3 separate regions of the Homo sapiens genome follow, and all the other regions are linked to region 2. The links are contacts of gene promoters, found by promoter capture Hi-C in human tissues and cell types (Jung and others, 2019). All regions are on one chromosome and are shown on one strand. Each heading gives the region's core, a stretch centred on a gene start or on the middle of the fragment in contact. The rest is flanking DNA. Distances are from core to core; before and after follow the strand shown. Region 1 overlaps DOCK7 (dedicator of cytokinesis 7). Region 2 holds the start of DOCK7 (dedicator of cytokinesis 7). Region 3 has its middle 43 kb from the start of ATG4C.

Region 1 (3,576 bases), core at 802-3,301, 40 kb before region 2:
TGAGAAACCAACCCACTGGCACCCTGATCTTTGACTTCTAGCCTCTACAACTCTGAGAAATAAATTTCTACTGTGTCAGCTACGCATTCTATGGTATTTTGTTATAGCAGCCTGAGCAGACTGATACAGGTAAGGAGTTTCTTCCTGGGGTAATGAGTATGTTCTCAAGTTAGACAGTAATGACAGCTGTGCAACTCTGTGAATACATACCACTAACTTGTATACTTTAAAAGGGTTAATTTTATGATATATAAATTAGATCACAATAAAGCTGTTAAAAAACAAAATAAGATTATAAGTAAGAACTGATGTTAGGTGTCCTGTTATTCAAAAGATTCAATGCACTTAATCTATCTAACATGTTTCTGAATAAATCTAACTAAATATACAAAGCCTTAGCTTTCAAGGAAAGAAATTGCCAGAATTATATATAGACATCGTCTGTCCCTATGAGTTGCTTGTTTCAGAAAGCTCTATGAATTGAAACTTTTTTCTTAAGTCAGAACAAATAATTAAACTTATAATATTAACATGACAGCATGAAATAAGAGAAAGCACTTTGTAAAGCAGAATGTAAACATAACACCTCAATGATGTTAGCAGAAATCAGATCTAAGTTTTTTAAAGAAGGAAAAAATACGTATTTCAAAATCTTCAAAAATCAAAGCCTACTGTAAAATCAACTCTTTGATTTTATATTTGTTATATGGCAGACTTAGCTTCATATATATCTTAGGCTTAGAACAGCAGGATTAGCTTCATACATAGGTTTGAATGCTGAATAGCACTTAAAATGATATACAGAATTTAAAAGTTGACTTTATGTTTGCTACACAGTAGGCTTAGCTTCATAAATACGTTAGGCTTAGCACAGTAGGCTCAGCTTCATACATACGTTTGAATGCTGAATAGTATTTAAAATGACATGTAGAACAATACTTCTCAAAAGGACACAAATGCAACTATAAAATCTACTCAGATTTTGTTACATCACTACTAAAATTTTATCCTGGAAAATAAAAGTTGTAAGTAAAAGAAATAAATACTCACTTGAGTGATAAGCATTTTACAAGAAGTCTTTGACCAAAATGTTCTTTGGGTATATCAGGAACACTAAGCCGTTCTATTGGTTCTTCCTACAAATTGAAAAGCAACACCAAAATGAATATGCTTATCATATTCCAACTCTTTATCTTTTTCAGAACTTACTTTACTAATCTAACACTTTTAGTCTTCACAATAGAACATAGAGAAGAATGACCTATTTATCCACAGACAGAAGTCATTTGATTATAACTTACTCATTAAGAATAGTAAATTCACTAGTATAAAATGTATTCATTTATAAAAATTACAGCTGTTTCAGTTGCTTTATCCTCTACATTTTGTAATACTATATATCAATCATAATCCCAAAAGATCAATTTTAATAATCATTTGCTTCTTTATATGCAAACATCTATACCTCATCTGGTGATGGATGCAAAGCAAAAAGTTCTTTGTGACGGTTTGATTTCCTTTGGTCATCATTCTGACGGTCTATTTCTTCATTTGGAGTTCGATCAAGTAAATTGGGAAGCAAAGCATCAGGAAGTGAATTTTTCAAGTCAAAGATACTACAGGCCCAGCTACCCCTTGGGGTATCATCTATTGACATTGAACGTCTTTTAAGGTCATCCTGTCATGCAAAACATTAAATATAAATATATTAATTAATAAATTGACAACTATTTTTAAATAACTTCTTATAGTTATTTAAGAATAAAAGTATTACTTGATCATCCTGGTAGCTGTTGCCATCTGGAGCTTCATCAGATTCAAAAACTTGTTTTGGCAAACCTTTTTGCCTTTCTTTCTGTTTATCTAATGTATTGGGATTAAATCCTGTTCCCAATTTATGATATCTATTAAAGAAAAAAAGTTAAATAAATATCAACTATCAAACTTAGGAATTTTTTCACTTTTTGGGCATCATTATGTAATAAGCCAAGTGTTTTCTGCATTATTTCTTTATGTAATAAGAATCTATTCTAGCAATTTAGGTTAAAGAAAATTTATATTCAATGTTCCTTTAACCCAGCTAAGGAGTAGAGTATGAGTTTCCAAAAGCAAATCATATTTTCCTTCTTTCCATGCCAATCATGTGTATATAAATTAAGCTGTACTTTCAATTCAGAGAATTGGTCAGTAAAAAGAAAACTTGGGAAGCCAGTAACTTGGGTTAAAGAATAAAATGAGAAATAGAAAACATACACTGAATTAAGAATAATATAAATTTTAAAAGGTTATATACATATAAAGCACTGAATCTTAAAATTTCAAGTAGCCAAGAAATTTTTTGCTATCTCTCGTTATCTATAAAAGATCTTAACCTAAAGCTGCAGACTTGTAAAATGAAAAACAGCAAAATCTACACCATCACTGTGTACATATATATATTAACATTACATATATACACAGTTAGCTAAAAACAACTCTTAAATTAATGCAAGCTTCTTTCTTAACAATCCAATAACAACCTAATACCCAAGAACATCAAATATGAGCTGATCAAAAAGCAATTATTGTTCGTGATTCAACACTTCATAGAGCCAAACTGAAGGAACATTTTAGTTGAAGCAAAACAATAATGTTCACAAGATGGTATAGTTCTTGTTATCACCCAATTTATGAGACAGTAAAGAATCACATTTGATATGAATTACTCACATCCAGTCTTGTTGCTAAAGCTATTAAAATAGCAATTACATGATATTAACATCACTGCATAATCGCAAAAGAAAGTATTTTCTCTGAAAGAACTAAAGACACTCAATATAGTAACATGAAAGTTATTACTTAGAAGCAGGTATCTTAATCTTTAATGGAATGTTTCAAGTGTCTTAATTTGTAAAGCTGCATACGTAAGCTGCTCTGATAAATCAGAATGCTACTGAATTCTATACTAAAAAAATTGACGATATGAAATTCAAGAAAGCAAAGAATGATTCATGATCAATACTCTCTTCTATGTCATCCTGTCCTCTAGTCTGTTGCTATGATAAGGCTCTAATAATTACCCATTCAACCCCACACACATCACCATTTTTCTGACTTGTTTCTTAGCATTCTCACTCTCATTTACGGTTCCAGCCACACTGTCCTCTTTACTCTTTGTTCCTTGAACATTTCTAGCATGCTTTCAATATGGAGCCTTAGCATGTATTGCTCTTCCCTCTGCCTAATAACATTCTTCCCCCAGATATTTACAGGGCTCACTTCCTTCAGGTCTCTGCTCAAAATCACCTTATCAGTAAGGCTTCCTCTGATTAATTATATAAAACAGAAGGTCGAGCATGGTGGCTCACACCTGTAATCCCAACACTTGGGGAGGCTGAAGTAAGAGGATGGCTTGAGGCCAGGAATTCAAGGTAACAGAGAGAGACCTTGTCCCAAGTAAATAACTAAATAGAAACCAAAATAAATAATAAAATAAAAATATTTGTCCCTCTTCTTGGCCCTCTCTATCCACTTCATCCTACTTTTTTCTCCACTGACTCACCTAGATCATATTTAGTCTATATTTACCTGTGTTGG
Region 2 (4,116 bases), core at 262-2,761:
AAAGAAAGAAAAAAAAAAGCCTCTGCCTCGAAAGCAGCTAGGACGACAGGTGCAACACCACACCTGGCTAATTTTTTTGCAGAGATGGGGTGGGGGGGACTCGCTATGTTGCCCAGGCTGGTCTTGAACTCCTGGCCTCAAGCGATCCTCCTGCCTCGGCCTCCCAAACTGCTGGGATTACAGGCCTGAGCCACTGCATCCGGCCCAAAATTTTTAAAGAAATGTCAGCAAACTAAAAAGACTCAGAGCCACAGAACTACAACTGCCCCAAAACAAAAAAAGGTAATTTAATATGAATGCTTCTTTTCTTGGGACATCATAATTCACACAAATATGATTTTATTAAAACAAAAATGTCTACTGTCTCATACATAAGTATACTCCACAAAGAAATTCTACAAATATTAGAGTCCTCTGTCATTTAATTTTTATTTGGCGGGTGGGAGAAAGGTGGCAACCAACCACCACAAGTAGGTGAAAGGCTTTGAAACCTCCACCTCAATCACTTGCTTTACTTCAAGACTGCAATCACTTGCTTTACTTCAAGACTGCTAACATATAAAAGGATGTCAGTGTATAAAGAACACTGCCTATCATCCATCTTCTCGGGTGCTCTGAGAAACACAGGCGCACAGTTAAATTCACAGGCGAACTCAGAACAAGCTTCAGCCTGCAATCCGTCAGGGATTCGGCAGCTGCACACCGAAGGTGCAGCCCGCAGCTCTCAACTTTTCATTCTGTCCACACGTTTTCAATCCTGGACGCACAAGTCCACTTTGAACCTGGCCCGAGGGTGCAAAGAGGGTTCCTGTCAGATTTCTCAGGAAGAGAGAGACGCGTGAAGGAGGGGCGGCCTCCCACCCGCCCCGAGCCGCCGCGCGTTTCTCCTTTTGTTGGGGTGGAGGAGGGCGGACCCCGCACCCTCTAGGGGCCAAGAGGGGTGGGCGGAGAGACGGGAGGGGGCGAAACGCCGCGGCGGCCCCCGACGAGCCCGGGGGTGGGAACACAAAGAATTTGGGAAGCGGCCGACCGCCCTTCCATAAACCTCCGCAGAAGTCCAGGCCCGGGCCGCCGAGGAGCAGGAGGAGGCGGGCGCGCTGGAGTCCGCGGCCCTCTCCGCTCCCTGCCGAGGCTCAGCGGCGGGCGCGGGCTGAAGGCCGGGGTTCGAGGGCGGCGCGAGGCCTCCGCTACCCCCTCAGCCACCCCGAACCCCTTCCGCCCCGCCGCGAGCCAGGCCGCGGGATCCCGGTGCCGGCCCCGCCACACCCACCCGCCTCCTAGGCCAGGCCTGGGAGGACTCCGCGGCTCTTTCTCGGGCGGCGGCGGCGGCGCGCCCCACGCCGGATATTTACCTGCTGATCTTCTGGGCGAAGGCGCGGCGCTCGGCCATGGCTGCTGCGGCGACGGCGACGGCGGCGGCGGCTGCGGCGGGCCGGGTGCGGACCGGCGGGCGCGTGCCTCCTCGCTCGTGCTCCCTCCCTCGCGGCCTCCGCCAGTCCGGGCTCCGGACCTGGGAGGCTGGGGCTGGCGGCCGGAGCCAGGAACGAGCCCTGCCGTAATGTTCCTTAGAGGCGCGCAACGAGAAACCGCTCCTCCCCCAGCGCGTCAATCCCGGCGGGAACCCCGGCTGCGGAAGGCGGCTGCGGCCGGCGGGAGCCGAGGGGAAGAATGGAGCGCTGAGGAAGCGAGGCGCCAGCCCCAGCCGCTTCGCTGCCGCGGAGCCTGCACGACCGAGAGGTCGCGGAGAGAAGCCAGAGACAGGCCAGCGACCTGGCGAGGCAAGAAAATAAGATAACCGAACGCGTAGGGGGAGCTTGGCTTTCCCGAAATGGAAGGGAAGGAAATGAAAGGTGGGCTTTGCCGAGGGGGCTGTGCTTTAACCAAAGCCCTGGATGACTGGGTTCATGTTTCTGCAGCACCGGTCTCCGAGCTTTTTAAAGCACTTGGGTTTCTGCTTCGGCCTCATGAATGCAGCCTAACTGGAGAAACAGTGGTTTTTCTTATAGAGAAAGAGCCAGAAAATACCTTGCTCCTGCAGCGATAACAATAGTAATAGTTGACTTCTGGTGCTTAGCCAGCCACTGGATTAAAGTTTTTCAAGCACGAGCGCTTTGAAGTAGATCGTTACTATCACTATTTTAGAGGGAAGGAAATTGGCTTGGAAAAGCTAAGTGACTGGCCCCAGGTCGCACAGATGGTAAACTCTTCCACTGAGACTCAAACCCAGAGCCGGTTCTTTTCTTTGAGGACAGTTGTTTCCGTATTATTAACCCCTTTTGGATCTCTCTCTGTCTCTCATACATACATATATATATATATATATATATATATATATATATATATATATATATATATAAAATCCAGGTGAGCTCTAACGTTCACCCCCATTTTGATGTTCTGTTAAATAAGCTCTGTGTTGACCACTGAAACTGACCTTGTCCATAATAGCCTATAAAACAGAGACTAGCAGAGATTTGTTTTCATCTGTTCTGTTGTAATCCCATAATGTCTAGAATATTTGGCTCCTAATGCATATCTGTTGATACTGAAATTATGGTGACACTAAGAAAAATATCTTGGTTTCTTGTAGTACCTTTCCTCTTAAGTATTGCAAGAACTTAAAATGTGTATTTATTTATTGTTATTATTATATTCTCAGTATGTCCTGGTGGAATATGTTGGATACCTGTTTTCCTCTCTTTTACCATTGGAAAATCTGTAGCTTGGAGCCATTAGGTCACTTGCCAGAGTCACACACTGAGTCAGAGGTGAAAGCCTCAATTAGTCAGATCCATAACTTCCTGTCTAGTGCTGTAACTTCTGTGGAAGACTGTGTATTTATATAACAATGCTCATTGCAGTAACACACTGCTTTTATTTATTGATTTATTTATTTTAGACAGAATCCCCCTGTGTTGCTCAAGCATGGAATGCATAGGGCACTGCAGCCTAAAACTCCTAGGCTCAAGCAATCCTCTTGCCTCAGCCTCTGGAGGAGTAGCTAGTACCACAGGCTCTTGCCAAGGCGCCCTCCAGTAACACACTGTTTTCAGATGCTTGTTTACTAAAGGAAAAGATAGTCTATTCAAAGAGGACAGATATTTGGCTTCTACCTAAGTATAGAGCCCACCTAGGTGTTCTAAAAAACACGAAGGTGAACTAGACACAGACCTGCTCTCAGAATGTTTGAGTCCATTGGGAAAGATGAACCAGGTACTCACAGACTGTAAGTCAAGGCTATCACTGTACCTGGCTTTTAAGACCCTCTGTGATAGGAACCCAGACTTATTTTGCCACTTTCTTACTCTGTAACCTTAGGCAAGCTACTTAACTTCATCTCTAAAAGGAGGAAAATAATTATATCTACTTGAAAGGGTGTTGTGAAGATTTATTGAATTGATTAATATAAAGTTCTTAGAACAGGGCCTGGTTCATGGTAAGTACGATGTGTGTCAGCTGTTGTTATTATTATCACTGTTACTGTCATTATTCATCCTATACTTAAGCTTGTCCTGGGTGTTTGATAGTCCCTGAATTGGTTGTCTGCTCTCATACTCCCAGCCAGATGTTGCATGCCTTTATCTCTGTTCTCCAAACATCTTTTCACTACTCTCTTAGAGAACTGGCCACATTTTGCTTTGAATAGTTCTTTGTATACATGACTCACTAGTTGCCAAAGTGTCTGAAAGGACTTTGCATGTACTCTGCAGCTTACTGGAAACATTTAGAGCAGGAAGAGGACAAGCAGGATCACGCTGTAAGCAGGGTAATTCAGAGTCTGGGGAACACTCTAAGCAGGAAGGGTGACCCCCTACCTCTGGGGAAGAGCTGGCAGTCACAGACCAAGTCATGTTGGCTGGTATCCCTGCCCCACAGGGTTTCAATGTCAGGAAAAGATATGGAACGCAGCAATGGGAGTGACAGTGGAATTGCTTCAGCTGACTAGCATCCATGCTCCCTATACCACCCCCTACACACACACACACACACACACACACACACACACACACACAGGTGTCAATCCACTATACTTCTGGGGAGCTCACTCCACCACCCTCAGTTTCAAGGGTCTTTTGACCTGGGCCTCACCAAGCAAAGCAGCACACTCCTCTGGCT
Region 3 (3,680 bases), core at 313-2,812, 53 kb after region 2:
TCCAGACAGAGCAGCATGCAGAGGCTTGCACTGTGAATTTTAGCTCCAGATTGACTGCAAGAACAAACCAGCAATCCTGAGAGGACCCACAGACCCTCTAAAAGAAGCAGACTGCTGCTGCAGGACCTGGGAGACACCCCAAATACTGTGAATGCCTCAACTGCAGAAGTGGGAAAGGGAGACCCTCCTCTCCTGAACACACACCCCCACTGGAAAAGCTGAAGGTCTGTTCGTGGGAGAATTTTCTGCCCTATCTTCAGCCTCCTCAAACAAAACAATTATCAGCCATGAATTTTGTATCCAGTGAAACTAAGCATCATATATGAGGAAAGATACCGTCATTTTCAGACAAACAAATGCTGAGAGAGTTCACCATTACCAAGCCACTCCTACAAGAACTGCTAAAAGGAGCTCTAAATTTTGAAACAAATCCTGGAAACACATCAAAACAGAACCTCTTTAAAGCATAAATCACACAGGACCTATAAAACAAAAATACAAGTTAAAAAGCAAAAACAAGAAACAAAACCAAAGTACACAGGCAACAAAGAGCATGATGAATGCAACAGTACTTCACATTTCAATGCTAACATTGACTGTAAATGGCCTAAATGCTCCACTTAAAAGATGCAGAACTACAGAATGGAAAAGAACTCACCAACCAACTATCTGCTGCCTTCAGGAGACTCACCTAACACATAAGGACTCACATAAAGTAAAGGGGTGGAAAAAGGCATTCGTGCAAATGGATACCAAAAATGAGCAGAGGTAGGTATTCATATATCAGACAAAACAAACTTTAAAGCAACTACAGTTAAAAGAGATAAAGAAGAACATTATATAATGGTAAAAGGCCTTGTCCAACAGGAAAATATCACAATCCTAAACATATATGCACCTAACACTGGCACTCCCAAAATTATAAAACAATTACTAATAGACCCAAGAAATGAGATAGACAGCAACTCAATAATAGTGGGGGACTTCAGTACTCCACTGACAGCACTAGACAGGTCATCAAGACATAAAGTCAACAAAGAAACAATGGATTTAAACTATACCTTGGAACAATGGACTTAACAGACATATACAGAACATTTCATCCAACAACCACAGAATACACATTCTATTCAACAGCACATAGAACTTTCTCAAAGATAGACCACATGATAGGCGTCAATACATTTAAGAAAATTGAAATTATATCAAGCACTCTCTCAGACCACAGTGGAATAAAACTGGAGATCAACTCCAAAAGGAATCTTCTATACCATGCAAATACGTGGAAATTAAATAACCTGCTCCTGAATGAGCATTGGGTCAAAAATGAAATCAATATGAAAATTAAAAAATTCTTCAAACTAAACAACAATAATGATACAACCTATCAAAACCTCTGGGATCCAGCTAAGGTGGTGTTAAGAGGAAAGTTCATAGCCCTAAATGCCTACATCAAAAAATCTGAAAGAGCACAAACAGACGGTCTAAGGTCACACCTCAAGGAAGAAGAGAAACAAAAACAAACCAAACCCAAACCCAGCAGAAAAAAGGAAATAGCCAAGATCGGAGCAGAACTAAATGAAATTGAAACAACAACAACAACAAAAACCAAAAGATAAATGAAACAGAAAGTTGGTTCTTTGAAAAGACAAATAAAATTGATAGACCATTAGCAACATTAACTAAGAAAAGAAGAGAGAAAATCCAAATAACCTCACTAAGAAACAAAACAGGAGATATTACAACTGACACCGCTGAAATACAAAAGATCATTCAAAACTTCTATGAACACCTTTACACACATACACTAGAAAACCTAGAAGAGATGGATAAATTACTGGAAAAAGATAACCCTCCTAGCTTAAATCAGGAAGAATTAGATACTCTGAACAGACCAATAACAAGCAGCGAGATTGAAATGGTAATTTAAAAATTACCAACAACAAAAGTCCAGGACCAGACGGTTTCACAGCAGAATTCTACCAGATATTCAAAGAAAAAATGGTACCAATCCTTTTGACATTATTCCACAAGACAGGGAAAGAAGGAACCCTTCCTAATTCATTCTATGAAGCCAGCATCACCCTAATACCAAAACCAGGAAAGGATACAACCAAAAAAGAAAATTACAGACCAATTTCCTTAATGAACATAGATGCTAAAATCCTTAACAAAATTCTAGCTAACCGAATCCAACAATATATCAAAAAGATAATCCACCATGATCAAGTGGATTTCATACCAGGGATGCAGGGATGGTTTAACATACATGAGTCAATAAATGTGATACACCACATAAACAGAAGTAAAAACAAAAATCACATGATCATCTCAATAGATGCAGAAAAAGCATTCAACAAAATCCAGCATCGCTTTATAATTAAAACTCTCAGCAAAATTGGCATACAGGGGACATAACTTAATGTAATAAAAGCCATCTATGACAAACCCACAGCCAACATAATAATGAATGGGCAAAGTTGAAAACATTCCCTTTGAGAACGGGAACAAGACAAGGATGCCCATTCTCACCACTCCTCTTCAACATAGTACTGGAAGTCCTAGCCAGAGCAGTCAGACAAGAGAAAGAATAAAGGGCACCCAAATCAGTGAAAAGGAAGTCAAACTGTCACTGTTTGCTGATGATATGATGGTTTACCTTGAGAACCCTAAGGACTCCTCCAGAAAGCTCCTAGAACTGATACAAGAATTCAGCAGTTTCCAGATACAAGATTAATATTCACAAATCAGTAGCTCTTCTATACACCAACAGCGACCAAGCTGAGAATCAAATCGAGAAATCAACCCGTTTTACAATAGCTGCAAAAAAACAAAAAACAAAAAACAACAACGAAAAAAAACTTAGGAATATACCTAATAAAGGAGTTGAAAGACCTCTACAAGGAAAACTACAAAACACTGTTGAAATAAATCGTAGACAACACAAACAAATGGAAACACATCCCATGCTCATGGATGGGTAGAATCAGTATTGTCAAAATGACCATACTGCCAAATGCAATCTACAAATTCAACACAATCCCCATCAAAATACCAACATCATTCTTCACAGAGTTAGAAAAAAAATTCTAAAATTCATATGGAACCAAAAAAGAGCCCCCATAGCCATAGCAAGACTAAGCAAAAGGAGCAAATCTGGAGGCATCACACTACCTGATTTCAAACTATAATATAAGGTCATTGTCACCAAAACAGCATGGTACTGGTATAAAAATAAGCACGTAGACCAATGGAACAGAATAGAGAACCCAGAAATAAACCCAAATACTTACAGCCAACTGATATTCAACAAAGCAAACAAAATCATAAAGTGGGGAAAGAACACCCTTTTCAACAAATGGTGCTGGGATAATTGGCTAGCCACATGTAGGAGAATGAAACTGCATCCTCATCTCTCACTTTATACAAAAGTCAACTCAAGATGGATTAAGGACTTAAACCTAAGACGTGAAACTATAATAATTCTACAAGATACCATTGGAAAAACCCTTCTAGATATTGGCTTAGGCAAGGATTTCATGACCAAGAACCCAAAAGCAAACGCAATAAAAACAAAGATAAATAGCTGGGACCTAATTAATCCAAAGAGATTTGCATGGCAAAAGGAACAGTCAGCAGAGTAAACAGACAACCCACAGAGTGGGAGAAAATCTTCACAA

Evidence for each region. The method cuts DNA at HindIII sites, captures the fragments that hold promoters and counts their contacts. A contact is called where the count stands out against the background at its distance.
Region 1: a contact is called between a fragment that was not itself captured here and the fragment with the promoter of DOCK7 in region 2, in 2 of the 25 tissues and cell types used here (hippocampus and psoas muscle).
Region 3: a fragment that was not itself captured here is called in contact with the fragment with the promoter of DOCK7 in region 2 in 2 of the 25 tissues and cell types used here (bladder and hippocampus).

The regions. Positions count from the first base shown.
Region 1 is chr1:62,646,641-62,650,216 of GRCh38, forward strand. It overlaps DOCK7 (dedicator of cytokinesis 7), which reads right to left. Exons shown (of 50, transcript NM_001367561.1): 5 at 1,775-1,904; 6 at 1,466-1,678; 7 at 1,051-1,136. Among named protein-coding and RNA genes, the nearest start is that of DOCK7, 40 kb to the right of the region's middle. The HindIII fragment of the contact is 3,976 bases long and covers 64-3,576 here.
Region 2 is chr1:62,686,875-62,690,990 of GRCh38, forward strand. DOCK7 (dedicator of cytokinesis 7) reads right to left here and starts at 1,512. Exons shown (of 50, transcript NM_001367561.1): 1 at 1,353-1,512. The coding sequence starts at 1,390. It overlaps DOCK7-DT (DOCK7 divergent transcript), which reads left to right and starts at 1,608. Exons shown (of 2, transcript NR_185999.1): 1 at 1,608-1,778. RefSeq lists a silencer at 865-1,614 and an enhancer at 2,624-2,918. The HindIII fragment of the contact is 7,491 bases long and covers 1-4,116 here.
Region 3 is chr1:62,739,342-62,743,021 of GRCh38, forward strand. No RefSeq gene overlaps it. Among named protein-coding and RNA genes, the nearest start is that of ATG4C, 43 kb to the right of the region's middle. The HindIII fragment of the contact is 9,788 bases long and covers 1-3,680 here.